Linked DNA regions of Homo sapiens: region 2 is linked to region 1. The links are contacts of gene promoters, found by promoter capture Hi-C in human tissues and cell types (Jung and others, 2019). All regions are on one chromosome and are shown on one strand. Each heading gives the region's core, a stretch centred on a gene start or on the middle of the fragment in contact. The rest is flanking DNA. Distances are from core to core; before and after follow the strand shown.

The links. Contacts are between HindIII fragments. The study calls those that stand out against the background at their distance.
Region 2: the fragment with the promoter of PNPLA7 here is called in contact with a fragment that was not itself captured in region 1 in 1 of the 25 tissues and cell types used here (spleen).

Annotation. Positions count from the first base shown.
Region 1 is chr9:136,801,845-136,805,718 of GRCh38, reverse strand. CCDC183 (coiled-coil domain containing 183) reads right to left here. Exons shown (of 14, transcript NM_001039374.5): 6 at 2,933-3,055; 7 at 1,092-1,217; 8 at 903-957; 9 at 262-362. CCDC183-AS1 (CCDC183 antisense RNA 1) reads left to right here. Exons shown (of 5, transcript NR_024580.1): 5 at 135-1,792. Among named protein-coding and RNA genes, the nearest start is that of RABL6, 4.2 kb to the left of the region's middle. The HindIII fragment of the contact is 7,702 bases long and covers 1-3,874 here.
Region 2 is chr9:137,549,152-137,551,651 of GRCh38, reverse strand. It overlaps PNPLA7 (patatin like domain 7, lysophospholipase), which reads left to right and starts at 1,250. Exons shown (of 35, transcript NM_001098537.3): 1 at 1,250-1,484. The coding sequence starts at 1,455. RefSeq lists a silencer at 1-451 and an enhancer at 1,640-2,141. The HindIII fragment of the contact is 18,703 bases long and covers 1-2,500 here.

The DNA.
Region 1 (3,874 bases), core at 932-3,431:
AGTGGACAAGCTTGTGTCAGGGCAGTGGTTAGGAGCTCAAGGCCTAATAATAATAAACGCAGATACACAGATGGGATTAAGATAAAAGGATTTGGGGCGGCCGAGGGAGTTGCCACTTTGTGTGTCCATTTCAGAGTGCCTCAGACCCCAGCCCAGCTCAGCCACCCTCCTGCCATGCTCCGGGAGTGCCAGGGAGCATTACCCAGACGTGAGAGGCTCAGCCACCCTCCTGCCATTCTCTGGGAGCGCCAGGGGCATTACCCAGACGTGAGAGCACCGTACAGCACTCTTGACCTTCTCCACCACAGCAGTCACGCCCGACTGGTATTCCATTTCTGCTGTGGAGGTCTCTTTTCTCCTCACTGGCAGAGCAGAGGGGAGGGGCAGTCAGCATGCAGGGATGGCTCAGGGGCTCTGTGTAAGGCTGTCAGACACCTCTGTACCTGCCCAGCTGCTGGGGCGGCCACCCAAGACACAGGCATCCTTCAGAGATGCCTGCCCCCGCCCCAACCTGCTCCCTCCTCAGCCCAGCCCTGCAGGGACGCCCCAGGCAGCCCCAGAGCAGAGGTGGACCCGGAGTGAGTGGCGCAGCACTGTGAGCACTGTGGGCCCGGTGGTGCTTCTCAGAGGCAGCTTAGGGGTCAGGATGCTCATCCTCTGCAGAGTCACTGGGGACTGGGCCCTTGGTGCAGGGCCCTTGGGTGCTGGGGCCAGCATCTCTGAGGCCACATTTGGCTACAGGCTCTCAGCCTCTGGAGGGAGAGGCAGGGACCTGTCCTTCCCTTCACCCTGGCGACCACATGTCACACCTGGCCTCAGGGTGACTTGATCCGTTGGCCTGAATCAGTGCCAGCCTCTCCTTGGGACCCTGGCTGGGGGCAGGTGGGGAGCTGAGCGCTTACATTTCAGGGTCTCCGTGCTCATCAGGTTCGAGGGGAAGTCCAAGTCCATCTGGCCCTGATGGGAGGTGGGGGCGGGGAAGGGATGAGACATCCTTGGCAGGGAGTGGGCCCTGAGTGGTGGCCCTGAGCCTGTGTCCACCCAGCTGTCATGGGGATGGGCAGCCAGCCAGGCCCTGGCCTGGGGCTTACCCGGCGGTACTTCTCGCTGGTCTCCTTCGTGTGGATCTTGTCGATCAGCTTCTTCTGCTGGTTGAGCCGGTTCTCCCTTGCCCGGCGCTCCTCGATGAAGGACGCCTCCCTTTGCCTCATGTTCCTCTGGGGACATGCGGGTGGGCACAGGGTTGGGGAGCTGTCTCAACAAGGCCCCTAATGGCAGTAAAGCCAGCGGGCGGTTGGCCATGCTCACCTTACTAGACTTTGGAACTGCATCCCCGGCCAATGGCCACACCCTTTTCCTAAACCACTTGTGCCCGTGGCCCCTCAGCTCACGGCCCTCCTTGCCCATGCCTCAGAGCATGTGCCAGCCCAGACGCTCTGCTGCCCTCCAGCCGCTGGCCCCCAGCTGCCTCCTGGCCAGGTCCACCTAGAACTCACGGAAGTGCATTCAGCCTGCCTGAAGACAGATTCATCCTCTTCCCCAAAACCTGGCCTCTTCCAGCGTGCCCTTGGGCAGCTAAAACCGTCATCTGCTAACCCCTGCTCACGCACCCCAGACACTGCTCTCACCCTCGCCACTCTCGTTGCCAGCGCTTAGTGGGGTTGCCTCTTGAGGAGTTCTCAGCTCCGTTGCTCCTGGCCACCCCTTCTCCACCCCGGGTATACCCAGGTGATCAGCGCTTCTGCCCTGGCACCTTCCAGTCCCTGCAGCCTGAGTACACCCTTTCTGAAGCACAGACCTGGTCACATCTTTCCTCCACCTCCTCCCAGGGCTCCAGGTCAGTCCTTGGGCCCCCAGCCCAGCCGCCTCCGTGGACTCCTGGGGCCTGTGCCTCTGCAGCCTCCACTGCCCTGGCCACACGCTGCTCCATGTATCACACCCCTCCCAGCCCAGGGCCTTTTCCCAAGTTGTACCTCCTCCTCCCTAGCCCTGGCCACACCTGACCTTTGCGGGTTCAATCCCTCAGCCCAGCTCAAGCACTGTCTTCCTGGAAAGCCATCTGCCACCCCACCTGTCTCTGCTGAGCTGGCTCAGGGGCTGTGTGGCATTTCTTCATGGACTACTGGATGAGTGCCACCCACTTCAGGAGGACAGGGTCTGCCTGTCCCGGTCCCTGCTGTATCCCCAGAGCCTTGCAGGGACCTTGGCACAGACTGGGTGAATAGGTGACCCCCGCCCTGGCCCGGCCAGTTCTCTCCCTCTCCTCTACTTCATGGCTCCTGTGCTGGATGGGACCTGCTCTGTCCAGTGGGTGAGCAGAGCAGGCTGGCCGGGCTGGCCACTGGATCCTTCTGGGGATTGTAGGCAGTGTGGGCATGGGGGTCTCCTGAGAGACCCTGGCCAGAAGACACAAGAGAGCCCGCCCTGGGGGGCCCCAGCCCTGGGCCCTGAGCTCACCTTGACCCCATCCGAAGATCCAAGAGGGCTGGCCCTGGGGGGCCCCCAGCCCTGGGCCCTGAGCTCACCTTGACCCCATCCGAAGATCCAAGAGGGCTGGCCCTGGGGGGCCCCAGCCCTGGGCCCTGAGCTCACCTTGACCCCATCCGAAGATCCAAGAGGGCTGGCCCTGGGGGGCCCCCGGCCCTGGGCCCTGAGCTCACCTTGACCCCATCCGAAGATCCAAGAGGGCTGGCCCTGGGGGGCCCCCAGCCCTGGGCCCTGAGCTCACCTTGACCCCATCCGAAGATCCAAGAGGGCTGGCCCTGGGGGGCCCCCGGCCCTGGGCCCTGAGCTCACCTTGACCCCATCCGAAGATCCAAGAGGGCTGGCCCTGGGGGGCCCCCAGCCCTGGGCCCTGAGCTCACCTTGACCCCATCCGAAGATCCAAGAGGGCTGGCCCTGGGGGGCCCCCAGCCCTGGGCCCTGAGCTCACCTTGACCTCATCCGTGATCATCATGGCATCTTGGGACATGATCTTCATATCCGACAGCTCTGAGCAGTAGTTGACCACGAGGTTCTGCAGCTTGTCCAGCTCAATGGGGTATCCTGCCAGCACCTGTGTTGAATGGGGTTCTCTTGTGGCCCCTACAGAGTGGGCTGCAGTTGCCCCGAGCTTTTATCCCCCGACTAAGAGCCCTGAGAACAGTGATAGGTTCTCCTCTGTGGCCCCAGCCACCTCCCCCACTCCCCGCTGGGCACAACGGTGATGAAAGGTGTTTCACAGGGAGTGGACAGTGCTGGCCTGGTGGACTCTTTCACCACCTAGGGTCCAACAACCCAGAGAGACTGAGAGAGTTTGTGATGAAATGCTCTGCAGAAAAGGCTGACTGAAACCCGGGGAGGTTTGGGGACAGTTCTGCTTTGAAGTGAAACAGAGGGGCTCAAGACATGGGCTTGGGGTCAGAGAGTCAGGATTCAAGGCCAAGGCAGCTTCTGACCAGCTAGTTTAGCTGTGTGACATTGGGAAAGTTACTTAATCTCTCTGTGTCCCCATTTGTAAGATGATGGCTCGTTCAGAAGGTTGCCATCAGGATGAATTGAGTGTAAAAGGAATTATTTAGCCCAGAACCAGGTACATACGTGCTCAGGATAGCTTTGCTATAGTGGTTTGTTTTTTGTAACTACAAGTATAGGCCAGGTGCGGTGGCTCACGCCTGTAATCCCAACACTGGGAGGCCGGAGGCAGGCAGATCATGAGGTCAGGAGTTAGAGACCAGCCTGGCCAACATAGTGAAACCCTGTCTCTACTAAAAATACAAAAAAAATCAGCCGGGCGTGGTAGTGGGCGCCTGTAATTCTAGCTATTCGGGAGGCTGAGGCAGGAGAATCGCTTGAACCCGGGAGGCGGAGGTTGCAGTGAGCCGAGATCTCACCA
Region 2 (2,500 bases), core at 1-2,500, 750 kb before region 1:
CTGGCGGATGAGTGATCGCTCTCAGCGCGGTGGTCCCTGGCGTCTCCACTGCCCGCCACTGCCTGTGTTCGTCCGCCAGGTGGCCGGCGGTTTCCCGGGAGCCCAGTCCCCCTGAGGCCGTGAGGTGGCGTCGGGAGGTCGGGGAGGACGCGGGCCCTGGACTCGAGACGGCCGCCGCGTTGACGCCGCGACCCTGCCTTTCTTACCCCTCCGCCGGGCGCGGCTCCTCTGGGCGGAGCCGGCAACCGCGCGGGGAAAGCCCGGGACCTGCAGCCGGGAGGGCCCGGGCTGTCTGTGCTCCCCCGCAGGCCGGGCAGTGGTGTGGGGGGACTCGAGCCCTCGCGGTGCCCAAATTAATCAATAATCTTGGACCCAGCACGTCCGGCTTGCGCACTGAGCCCTCCTGCCCGGTCACCCTCGCAGGCGACCTCTCACCCCACGCGGAAGTCGCCCCCCAGCCGCACCCTCACAATCCGGATCCACCCCCTCCCCAGCTGCACCCCGTCCCCAGCGGCACCCCCACAGCCCAGATCCATCCCCTCTCCAGCTGCACGCCCTTCCCCAGCGGTACCCCCACACCCCAGATCCATCCCCTCCCCAGCTGCACCCCCTCCCCAGCGGCACCCCCACGCCCCAGATCCACCCCCTCCCCAGCTGCACCCCCTCCCCAGCGGCACCCCCACGCCCCAGATCCACCCCCTCCCCAGCTGCACCCCCTCCCCAGCGGCACCCCCACACCCCAGATCCACCCCCTCCCCAGCTGCACCCCCTCCCTAGCGGTACCCCCACTCGCCGGATCCACGCGCTCCCCAGCTGCACCCTCTCCCCAGCAGTACCCCCACACCCCAGATCCACCCCCTCCCCAGCTGCACCCACTCCCCAGCGGTACCCCTACACGCCGGATCCACCCCCTCCCCAGCTGCACCCACTCCCCAGCGGCACCCCCACACCCCAGATCCACCCCCTCCCCAGCTGCACCCACTCCCCAGCGGTACCCCTACACGCCGGATCCACCCCCTCCCCAGCTGCACCCTCCTCCCCAGCTGCATCCCCACACCCCGGATCCACGCCCCGCCAGCGTCACCTCCCCTCCAGCCGTGCTTCTCCAGAAGGCAGCGCTGCCCCCATCCCCGCCGCGCTGGGCCTGGCTCCTCTTGACCTGCTTGGATACGCCCCATCTGGCTGCTGTTCTGGGTTCCGGGACAGCCACGTGAGGGCTGTTTACAGAGGGAAGGAGGTGGCTCCTAGCAGATGACAGACACTTCTCAAAAGACAGCTTTTCTTCCTGGAGAACAGACTTTTTCAGCAGGATTTTCCTTTCAGTGAAACATAATTTGACTTGAAAGGAACCCAGGGAAAAGTGTCCAGGTGTGAGCATGAGCGGGTAGAGGTGTGCCCTTGTTTGCTTCAGGCTGTCTGCTTTTCGCCCCTGACTGTTTTTTCTGTTTCTGGCCATGGAGGAAGAGAAAGATGACAGCCCACAGGTATGTAACTCGGGGGACCAGATGCCTGGATTTCCCAGTTGGGGGGCATTTCTGGACCCAGAGAAGGGTCCTCTTGGCGTCTGCTCTGCCGCGCTCTTTGGCCCCGTGGCTTCTTGGCGCCTGAGGACTGTGGGAGTGGTGGATCTGGCCCCTCTCTGCTGCCTGTCACAGCTGCCAGCACTTGTTAGACGCGCCTGTCACAGCAGACAGCCAGTGGTGGCCCATGGGCATTGTTCACAGCGAGGGCAGCCAGCGGTGGCCCATGGGCATTGCCTGAGGCCTTGTCTTTTCTTCCCCTAAGGTCACAGTTGCTACTTCCAGTTCCTTTAGGACTTTGCCTGATGGTTTTGCTTAGAACCTTTTTCTGTGTTTTTTTTTTTCCCAAGACGGAGTCTCGCTCTGTCGCCCAGGCTGGTGTGCAATGGTGTGATCTTGGCTCACAGCAACCTCCGCCTCCTGGGTTCAGGCAATTCTGCCTCAGCCTCCCGGGTAGCTGGGACTACAGGCACCACGCCCGGCTAATTTTTGTATTCTTAGTAGAAACGGGGTTTCGCCATGTTGGCCAGGCTGGTCTTGAACTTTTTTTTTTTTTTTTTTTGAGACGGAGTCTTGCTCTGTCGCCCAAGCTGGATTGCAGTGGCACGATCTCAACTCACTGCAAGCTCTGCCTCCCAGGTTCACGCCATTCTCCTGCCTCGGCCTCCCAAGTAGCTGGGACTACAGGCGCCCACCACCACGCCCGGCTAATATTTTTTTGTATTTTCAGTAGAGACGGTGTTTCACTGTGTTAGCCAGGATGGTCTCGATTTCCTGACCTCGTGATCCGCCCGCCTTGGCCTCCCAAAGTGCAGGGATTACAGGCATGAGCCACCGTGCCCGGCCTAGTCTTGAACTCTTGACCTCATGATCTGCCCGCCTCGGCCTCCCAAAGTGCTGGGATTACAGGCGTGAGACACTGTGCCCAGCCCTAGAATCTTTTTCTTAGTCAAACATCTGTAGCCACATGGCAAAGGCCT